Linked DNA regions of Homo sapiens: region 2 is linked to region 1. Evidence: promoter capture Hi-C in human tissues and cell types (Jung and others, 2019). All regions are on one chromosome and are shown on one strand. Each heading gives the region's core, a stretch centred on a gene start or on the middle of the fragment in contact. The rest is flanking DNA. Distances are from core to core; before and after follow the strand shown.

Region 1 (4,787 bases), core at 1,346-3,845:
GTGCTCGCAATGCCAGACTCTCAAGTGTTATTCAAGGTGATTCATCACCGACATTGGCACCTTCCAAATAGTGACTTGTCCTTTTGGCTCCTGTGTTCATTTGGCAGGCAGATAGTCTTGCAGGCAGTGAATGGAGTGTTCACTCTGTTTACATTTCCCTTCTTAGGATGATACTTTTTTTTTTTTTTTGAGTTGGAGTCTTACTCTTTTGCCCAGGCTGGAGTGCAGTGGCACAATCTCAGCTCACTGCAATTCCACCTGCCGGGTTCAAGCAATTCTCGTGCCTCAGCCTCGTGAGTAGCTGGGACTACAGGTGGGTGCCACCACACCTGGCTAATTTTTGTATTTTTATTAGAGACGGGGTTTCACCATATTGGCCAGGCTGGTCTCGAACTCCTGGCCTCAGATAATCCACCAGCCTCTGTCTCCCAAACTGCTGGGATTACAGGCTTGAGCCACCAGCTACAATGCGTCCCACCATAGGTTGATACTTCTGCTGGGGATTGACTCACTAAGTAAACTGTTCAACCACACTGTTGTTCTTTCCATTTAATAAAATATATTTTAGTCTTTGCTTTACCTTCATGTTTCTTTCTTTTTTTTTTTCTCTGAGACGGAGTCTCGCTGTCACCCAGGCTGGAGTGCAGTGGCCCGATCTCGGCTCACTGCAGCCTCTACCTTCTGGGTTCAAGCAATTCTCTACCTCAGCCTTCTGAGTAGCTGGGATTACAGGCGCGTGCCACCACCTGCTAATTTTTGTAATTTTAGTAGAGACAGGGTTTCACCATCTTGGCCAGGCTGGTCTTGAACTCCTGATCTCGTCATCCACCTGCGTGGACCTCCCAAAGTGCTGGAATTGCAGGCATGAGCCACCACACCCGGCCAGCCACCGTGCCCGGCCCATGTTTCATCAATTGTGGATTAGCACCTGATTTGATACAATGACTTTAAATGTATCCAGCCTTTAAACCTAGTTGGTCTCTAGATTTTTTCAGAAGAGGGCATTTCCCCAGCTAAGGATAAGGGATGTGGTTAAAAAAAAAAATCACCGACTCTTTTGTGATCTCGCTTTAGTCTACAGTCAGGGGGATGGTGTAGGGGATAACTCTGTTATCCAGTGAATTTTGGACTTTAGCACTGATCATATGACTTCTTATCTTGAGTTGTTGATTCCTTTTAAGTTACTGCATTACAGGCCAGCCTTATTTGGTCTAAAATTGGTTACTTTAGTCTGTATTCCCACTAACAGTATATTGAGTATTCTGGTCTGCCCCTTTTTGGCTATCAATAATGAAGGCATATTAGCTGTTGGTCTTTGCCAGTCAGTAATATAGAACAGATTGATATCCTGTTAGGTCTTTACTTGCATTTCGTTAGTTCTGCTTGACTTTGAAAATGTTTTCTGTTTGTTAGTCTCTGCTTCTTCCCTAGCCTGATGACCTTGAATGAGATATTTAATTTTAATTCTCTAAGCTTCACCTTCCCAATCTTTTTTTGAGATGAAGTCTTGCTCTATCACCCAGGCTGGAGTGCAGTGGTTCAATATCGGCTCACTGCAACCTCTGCCTCCCAGGTTCAAGCAATTCTCCTGCCTCAGCCTCCTGAGGAGCTGAGACTATAGGCACGTGCCACCACGCCCAGCTGATTTTTGTATTTTTAGTGGTGACGGGTTTTCACCATACTGGCCAAGCTGGTCTTGAACTCCTGACCTCAGGTGATCCACCTGTCTCATCTTTCCCAGTCTTGAAGGGGAATAGGTTGATGATACTATCTACCAGGTAGTAAGGATTAAATAATGTAATATCCATAAAGGGGTATCTGGCACATAGTAAGCGCTAAGCAGATGCTGGCTGAATTATTATTATTTTTACAGTGAATCAGAAATCCTGCACCATGAGAAGCAGTACGAGCCATTCTACTCATCTTTTGTTGCACTTTCCACACACTATATTACAACAGTTTGCAGTCTCAGTAAGTATTCCACTCTTGTCCTTCCCTTCTGAGGGCTTGTGAATAGGGGGATTGTTTATCCTCTCGTTAGTGTATCTGAAAAAGTTGTTAATGAAGTCTAGGTTTTAGCACTCCTAAGCTGCTCACCCAAGAGTAGAGACAACTGTCAGCTAGGATGAGGCTCCAGAGGTTCCCTTACCTAGGCTAACCAAGTGGAATTTTAAAACTACTTGGCTTGGACACCTGCTTTATAAGTATTAAGTCCACCTCCTTTCCCTTCTTAATCCAAAGCATTTTATTGATTTCTCATGTAATTACTGGTGTGTTAATTTCCCTGGGGGGAAGGCGGTGGTGGATACTGACCTCTGGAGTTAGCAGCCACTCAAGGCTCTATTCCTTATTTGGTTTTGGTGAGGATGTGGATTCTCCTTTGTGTTCTCTGGTATATGAAGGGATTTCAACTTCAGTTCTCCATTTTCTTCATTTTTCTACCCCCAAAATGGCTAATCCCTATTTTACATTTCTGAATTTTTACATTTGTCTAAAATCTTGACTCAAATAGTTCTGAAGAATTCTAATTATTTTAAATTTGCTTTTTTAGAGACAGGGTCTTGCTCTGTCATCCAGGCTGGAGTGCAGTGGCGTGATCATAGCTCACTGCATCCTTGAACTCCTGGGCTCTAGTGATTCTCCTGCCTTAGCCTCCTCAGTCCTAGCTGGGACTACAGGCACAAGCCACCAAGCCCAATTAATATTTTATAGTGACAGGGTCTCTCTATGTTGCCCAGGCTGGTCTGGAAGTCCTGGGCTCAAGCAGTCCTCCCAGCTTAGCCTCCCAAAGTGCTGGGATTACAGGCAGGAGTCCCCATATTTGTTTATTTGAACAGTTTGCTAAGCAAGTAAACTGAAAGGACATTGAAGAATTAGTGTATTTTTTGTGTGGCCCAAGACAGTTCTTCCAGTTGCTGAGGAATCCTTCAGTGTCCAATACTGTTTATTATAAGCTCTGGCTACTGGCAGAAGAATCAGTTTTAGCTTGGAGAAACTTTATGTAAGGAAGTCATTTTATTTTTTTAAGTTATACTTAAAATTTTTATCCATTTATTTATTTATTTTGAGATCGGGTTATGAGACTAATTTTTGTATTTTTGGTAGAGATGGGGTTTGACCATGCTGGCCCAAGCTGGTCTCAAACTCCTGGGCTGAAGTGATCCACCCGCCTCAGCCTCCCGAAGTGATCCACCCACCTCAGCCTCCCGAAGTGCTGGGATTATAGGTGTGAGCCACTATGCCTGACCAGGACGTCATTTTAGAATCCATGGGAATACTACTACAATAGTAGTATTGTCTAGTGCAAGCTTGTCCAACCCACAGCCTGAGGACCATGTGATGGCTTTGAATTTGGCCCAACACAAATTCATAAACTTTCTTAAAACATTATGAGATTTTTTTTTTTGCCTTTTTTTTTTTAAAGCTCATCAGCTATTGTTACTGTTAGTGTATTTTTTGTGTGACCTAAGACAATTCTTCCAGTGTAGCCCAGGGAAGCCAAAAGATTGCACACTCCTGGTTTAGTGGTTAAGAGCATGAACTCTAGAGGCTGACTGCCTGGATTTAAACCTAGCTATGTGACTTTTGTCAAGTCATTTAGTTAGCTCAGCTGTTAAAAATGGACAGGGATAATATGAATATCTGCCTCATAGAATTGGTTTAAGAATTAAATGAGTTAATACCTTTGAAGTGCTTGGCACTGGTGTGATGTAAGTATTTCCTATTATAGTTATCCTGATTTCTAGTAAATATGAGATAAATTGATCTGGTAGTTATTGATGTCAAAATGCCTTTGTTTACCCCTTGGGTTTTTGGCTCTGAATAATTGTTACGATATTGGGAATGTTGGACATAGAGCTCAATACTTACTTTGCTTAATTTATTGACCAACGCTGAGCAGTCTGAAATTGAGTAATGTTTATTACTTTCTCAGTTCCCCGGAACCAACTTCAGTCAGTGGCAGCAGCCTGTAAAGTTCTAATTGAGTTTTCTCTCCTGCGTCTGGAGAATCCAGATGAGGCTTGTGCTGTGTCCCAGGTGAGAGTGATGGGCCCATTTCTTGCCCTATTCTGAAGCAGTGTTGTGACTGACTAGTGGAATAGAGTAGAGGTCAGTGAACTTTTTCTGTAATAGGCCAGATAGGAAATCATTTGCAGGCTGTATGTTATCTGTTGCAGCTAGTTAACTATGCCTTTTTAGTGTGAAAGCAGCCATAGATTAATATATAAATGATGAACATGGCTGTGTTCCAGTAAACTTTATTTACAAAAACAGGCAGTGTTTGAATTGGAGCTGTAGTTTGCCAACCTCTGGTACATGGGGCTACAGAGTCTTCTCAAGGATTGCAAACTTACATACCTGCAGGGGCCAGGTAGGTAACAGAAAATGAGTAAAGTGTGCTAGTTGAGAAGATTGCAGGTCCCAACTAAAGGGGCTAACCACTATTTGGCTCTGGGTTATTACTGCCATGCAGGAATGGAGGTGCAAGGTTGCTATACTGTGAATTATTTGAGCGTGAGAATTTCAGATTTGCATGTGAATCTTTTCATTCCCTTCAAATTTTAAAAAAATATTGTGAGAACAATAAGACAAATCTATAAGCTACATACGGTCTAAGGACATCAGCTTGCAGTCTTTGCTTTAGTGTTTATATGAACCTAAATTTGGCCCTGTGCCAGTTAGAATTTCCAAAAGAGTAGAATTTTCTGAAAGATCTATTTGTTTTTGTTTTCTTTTGTTTGCATTTGTTTTCTTTTCAGAAACACTTGATTCTCCTAATCAAGGGC
Region 2 (5,504 bases), core at 65-2,564, 440 kb before region 1:
GGGAGGCCCCATTCCGCAGTAACAAAGGGTGAGGGGCTCCTTGTTGACAAATTGCTTCCCCGCCAGCGCCCGGTCTTTGGCCTCCAGCCCTGACCTCTGTTTTCCTGGGGTGCCCCTAGTTACAGGCTGGTGGCGTCCAGCTTGGGGAGCGAGGGCCTCCGAAAGCCTGGAAGTGTGGCTTTCTCCCTTGATGCCCGCCAACCTCCGGCCACGCCAAGGCAGGCGGCTGCCCCCTTTGCCGCCGCTTGTAAACGATCAGAATCGCCCCGCCCTGGGAGCGGGCCGGGCAGGTGGCCCGCAGCAGGGCCTGTCGTCCAGCCGGCCTCGCGGGGGTGGAATTCTTAAGAAAACTGAGCCCCCGGAAAGGCTGGCTCTCCCTGCCCCAGACTCAATTCCAGGGAGATGACCCGGGCCAGGCCTCGGGGCCGGCGGGAGGCAGGGGGAGGGTTTGCCGCACCCGGTCTAGGAAACTATTCGTGAACCCCGCTGGGGGAAGGCGAGCCTCCGACACTGGGGGATTGTCTGGATCGGAGGGCGGGGGATCAGGGAGAGGCGCAGACACAGGGCGAGACCCCCACAGAGGGCAGCGCAGAGACAGAGAGAGGGAGAGAAAAGCCAGAGGCAGAGACACAAACGCGGGCAGCCGAACACGGAGGCAGGCGGGGAACGGAAAGAGACGGGCAGACCAGGGGAAAGTGAGCGGCGGAAACGGAGCGACGGAGAGACAGACACACGGACGTGGGGACCGAAGCAGAGGGGGCCGCGGGAGGCGGAAACGTCCAGAGCCGAGAGGCGCGGCGCGGCGAGGCCCGGGCACGGCCGGGGGACATGCGAGCCCGGCCCGCCCGGCCACGCATCTCCCTCCCTCGCTCCCTCTCTCCCCCGGCCGCGGAAACTCCGATCCAGAAACGGAACCCTGGGGCGAGTCTGGGGACGGGCTCCGGACGCGGCGGTGCCCCCCGGCCACCCCGTGCCGCGCCCACGTCCCCAGCGCCGGCGTCCGGAGGCGCCCGCCAGGTCCCCCAGGGCTCCTGAGCTCGGCGGCGGCGCCTCCACCCGGTGCCCGCGGCCGCCGGACGCGCCGGGGGACGCAGCTCCGGGCTGGGGGCGCGGCACTGCCCCCGCGGCCGAAGCCTCTGGAAGCCGGGCGCCCGCGTGCCGACCCGGGCGGGACTTACCGCGCGCGCCCGCCGGTCCTGCGGAGCTGGGTGCGGGGGTCGCGGGCCCGGGCGCCCCAGGAGGCTCGGCGAGGCGGCCGGCAGGGCGGGGGGCGGCCCCGCGACGCTCGGCTGGGCTGCGCTGCGCGCTGTCTGCGGCCCCGGGCGGGCGCGCGGCGCGGGGGAGCGGCTCCGACGTCAGGGTGGCTCCCTCCAAACAGGGCGCGAGGGCGGGGGCAGCGGGGAGGGCCGCGCGCAGAAAGAGCGGGCGGGCGCGCGCGGCCTCTCCCTCCGGGTGCGCAGGAGGGGGCGCCGCGGCGGCAGGGGCCCCGGGCCCTCTCCTGGCCCGCCCGCCCCGGGCTGAGCTTCGGCGCGCTCCGACGGCGTGGTGGGGCGGCCGGGACGCCTGGCCGGCGCCCGAGAGGCAGGGCAGCCCAGCCGGGCGCCCTGGCCCGTTCTTAAGCGCCCTCCCCGGGTTTCTCTGCGCTTCCACTCTCTCCGCCCGACTTTTACCGAGCCTGGGCCGTCAGGCCGTGCCAGGCCTCGGGGTGACAAAGATGGATGTGTCCTTTTTGTGGGCACCGGGCATTGCAGACTTGCCCCGAGAGTGGGGCGCCCCAGCCCGCCGCGTCCCGGCACCAGGAGTCCCCAGTTCTGCGGTGCACCTCATCCCGTCCGCTCCGGCATGCGACCCGGTTCAAGTCCGTGCTGTTGGTAGCCTGGGTTGCTCAGCCTTGCCTAGTGTTATCCTAGTGTCGCTCTCGGCCCCACGCCCTTGGCTTAAGCATCCCGAAAAGCCCCAGGGACTTATTAGGAACTAAAAAGCCAGCAAATGAACTCACTTCTCTGACTCCTGGGAAGAGTGGAGCTCCTGGCCCCAGCTTCCAGCCTCACCTCGGGGGTTCCTATCTAATCAGTGGGCACTTGGGTGGATTGCGGCCGTACCTTCTCTATTCTGTGTGCTTAACAACGGGGTGAGAAAATAACTTTGCTTCTGGAAAGTGGTGGCCCAGGGACACCACTGGGACACGATTGTAGGACTTGGGGATTTTGCTTTACAGCATAGTTACCTGTGTCCATGTGTTTTACCTAGCTTGGCTGGAAACTTCCAGATAGACACAGCCCTGCTTGTCTGACTCATGAGGTTGCCGGGCATCCTGGGTGGCTCCTAGTGGCCTGCTGGGAACTCCCTGGTGTACTCCAGCCTACTCGCACCCTCCACACCCAGCCTGCATCTGCGCCTCCTAGCTGTTGCCTGCGCCCTTCCCTCTGCCCGGAATTCCCTTCCCCTCCTTTCATCTCTGGCAAACATTCTTCCAGCTCCAGATTGGAAAGCCTTCCCAAGACCCTTTGGGAGCATCTCCCTCCTCCAGTGTGATCCTGGAGCACAGGATGAGAACTTCTGTTCATGTCAATTTCCCTCTAGAATAACTGTGTACATCTCTTGGGCAAACATTCTTCCAGCTCCAGATTGGAAAGCCTTCCCAAGACCCTCTGGGAGCATCTCCCTCCTCCAGTGTGATCCTGGAGCACAGGATGAGAACTTCTGTTCATGTCAATTTCCCTCTAGAATAGCTGTGTACATCTCTTTCCTCCATTAGACCTTGAGGGCAGGAATCGTGTTTATTTCAGTGTCTCCATTGCTTATGGGCAGGCCAGGTGAGATGTACAATGTATTTGGTTGAATGAAGTTGTTGTTGTTGTTGTTGTTGTTGTTATTATTATTATTATTAGAGACAGAATTTTGCTCTTGTTGCCCTGGCTGAAATGCAATGGCGTGATCTCGGCTCACTGCAACCTCTGCCTCCCAGGTTCCAGCAATTCTCAGCCTCCCGAGTAGCTGGGATTACAGACGCCCACCACCACGCCCAGCTAGTTTTTGTATTTTTAGTAGAGATGGGGTTTTGCCATGTTGCCCAGGCTGGTCTCCAACTCCTGGCCTCAAGTGATCCTCCCGCCTCAGCCTCCCAAAGTGTTGGGATTATAGGCATGAACCACCACGCCCAGCGAATAAAGTAATTATTATCCCCCATTAATGTAGCACAGATAGGTCTTCCCTTAATGGTAACTATGACCGTTATAATAGTTCACACATATTGAGCACCTTACCATGTGCCTCATCCCATTGCAAGCTGTTGCCACTCTCACAATAAACCTATGAGGTAAGTATTGTCTCTGTTTTAAAAGTGCCAGGCGCAGTGGCTCATGCTTGTAATCCCAGCACTTTGGGAGGCCAAGGCAGGAGGATCACTTGAGGTCAGGAGTTCGAGACCAGCCTGGCCAATATGGCGAAACCCTCTCTCTACTAAAAATACAAAAATCAGCCAGGTGTGGTGGCGTGTGCCTGTAGTCCCAGCTACTCGGGAGGCTGAGGCAGGAGAATCACTTGAACCTGAGAGGCGGAGGTTGCAGTGAGCCGAGATCGCACCACTGCACTCCAGCCTGGGAGGCAGAGTGAGACTCCATCTCAAATAAATAAATAAATAAACAAACAAACAAATAAAATAATAAAAGTGAAAAAAATCCCGAGGCTGGAGGATCACTTGATCCCAGGAGTTTGAGGCTGCAGTGAGCTATGATTGTGCCACTGTACTCCAGCCTGGACAACATTGCAGAAGGCTAATTGTGGAACCTAATGAGCTTGTCACTCCAGCAAGGCCTTGTCTCAAAAAAAAAAAAAAAAAGTGAAAAAAGGAACGTCAAGAGAAAGGTTAAGTAACTCGCCTAAAGTCACACAGTAAGAGCCCATGCCAGCTAGTGTCTGTTGGATAACTATATACCATGTACGGCAGAAACCAGCCTCACTGCACTGTACACAGTAGACACTCAGGAAATATTTACCATTTTGCAGCCAAAGCTTACCCCCGCCATCTTTCATGCAGACCCCGAGCAGGGTAGAAAGTAGAGTTCTACATTTTGTAAGAATCCACTCCCACATTGCAGAAAGCTAATTGTGGAGCCTGATGAGCTGGTCAGATCACACATAGAGCCAGGAGTAGAAGCCACAACTTCCAGCCAGTGCCCTTGACAGGGCAGCCCACCATCTCTCAAACACCGGGAGGTTCAAGAACAACACCAACCCCCTAATCAGGGACAAAGGGTTTGGAGTTGAGTCACCATCTGTCTGGTGACGGGAAAGCTACAGTGTGGGCAGGGGGCCTGGGAAGTAACTTGGTAGTAATATCTACCCATTTTGTGCCAGGCATTATGCTGGTCACTCTGTCTGCTTCATCTCCTCTAATCCTTACCACAGTCCCATCATTGTTCCCATTTTACAGGTAAGAAAAATCGAGGCACCAAAATGTGTCATTACCTGCTCAAGACCACATTGCTAGTGATTAACAAAGCCTGGACTTGAGCCCAGACCTGTCAACACCAAAGTCCATGCTTCCTTGCCCACCACACCCTCTCCACCCTCTCGGCTGCCTCAGTGCTCCTCCCCATCAGGCTGCAGCAGGGATGCTGCACTGAAGATGGACCCCAGGGGCCCCAGCGGGAAAGGCAGAACCTGTCACGTCAGAGTGTCCCAGCTCGAGCAGATGCACCTGGTTGGCAGTGGTGTTCCAGCTGCCCCTACAGGCCTGGCTGGCACAGGGCATGGGCCTGAGGCCAGAGCCTCCTGGCCCTGGGCCAGCCTCTTGGGGCCGAGGTAATGTGGGGCCCAGAGCTGGGGCTCAGGGCTAAAAGCCCCTCTCCCCAGCTCATTAGCAAACATCTGGGCTCAGGAAAATGACCGACCTGGAATGTGACTGAGCTGTGGGGAGCTGCTCTCTCCCAGAGTCCGGGAATGTGAGCTCCCTCCTGCAGGGCACGGACTCAGCCCAGCTGTTTCCTCTAATCCTGTCAGTCTGGCCTCAACGGGGGTCCAAACCTCTGCACTCTCGCTGGAGAAATAGAATGAAAACAAGCAAAAGGCCTGTCTTCCCAGTCCAGCCCACTGAACAGAGGGTTGGTACACAGTCCCTCTCTTTTTATGATAAAGATGAGAGCGTTCACACCTCCAGGTATGGAGCTGGGAGGAGCCATTCGGACTCATCAGGGGAGGCTCAGGGTTTACATTGTTCCTGCATCGCCCTCTGACTCTGTGCTAGTTGTTTCACACCTGGGCCTTGGTTTCCTTATCTGTAAAATGCAGTTAGTAGTGCTATGTACTCCATAGATTTGTTGTCTGGAGTCATTCATTTATCCAACAAATACTTATTGTGCCTGTTATGTGCCAGACATGCACAGAGGTGTTGAGGACACAACAACAGACTAGACCAATAAGGTCCCAGCCTCCAAGGAGCTTATGTTCTGCCACACCCAGGCAGATTGTGCAACAGATAAACAGATGAGTGGATCTCACAT

The links. The method cuts DNA at HindIII sites, captures the fragments that hold promoters and counts their contacts. A contact is called where the count stands out against the background at its distance.
Region 2: a contact is called between the fragment with the promoter of NBL1 here and a fragment that was not itself captured in region 1, in 1 of the 25 tissues and cell types used here (mesenchymal stem cells).

The regions. Positions count from the first base shown.
Region 1 is chr1:19,198,902-19,203,688 of GRCh38, reverse strand. It overlaps UBR4 (ubiquitin protein ligase E3 component n-recognin 4), which reads left to right. Exons shown (of 106, transcript NM_020765.3): 2 at 1,874-1,971; 3 at 3,935-4,038; 4 at 4,761-4,787. Among named protein-coding and RNA genes, the nearest start is that of UBR4, 9.0 kb to the left of the region's middle. RefSeq lists an enhancer at 851-1,352. The HindIII fragment of the contact is 5,188 bases long and covers 2-4,787 here.
Region 2 is chr1:19,640,121-19,645,624 of GRCh38, reverse strand. It overlaps NBL1 (NBL1, DAN family BMP antagonist), which reads right to left and starts at 1,314. Exons shown (of 4, transcript NM_005380.8): 1 at 1,179-1,314. The region is part of intron 1 of MICOS10-NBL1 (MICOS10-NBL1 readthrough); the gene reads right to left. RefSeq lists a silencer at 1,229-1,568 and an enhancer at 1,467-2,302. The HindIII fragment of the contact is 7,978 bases long and covers 335-5,504 here.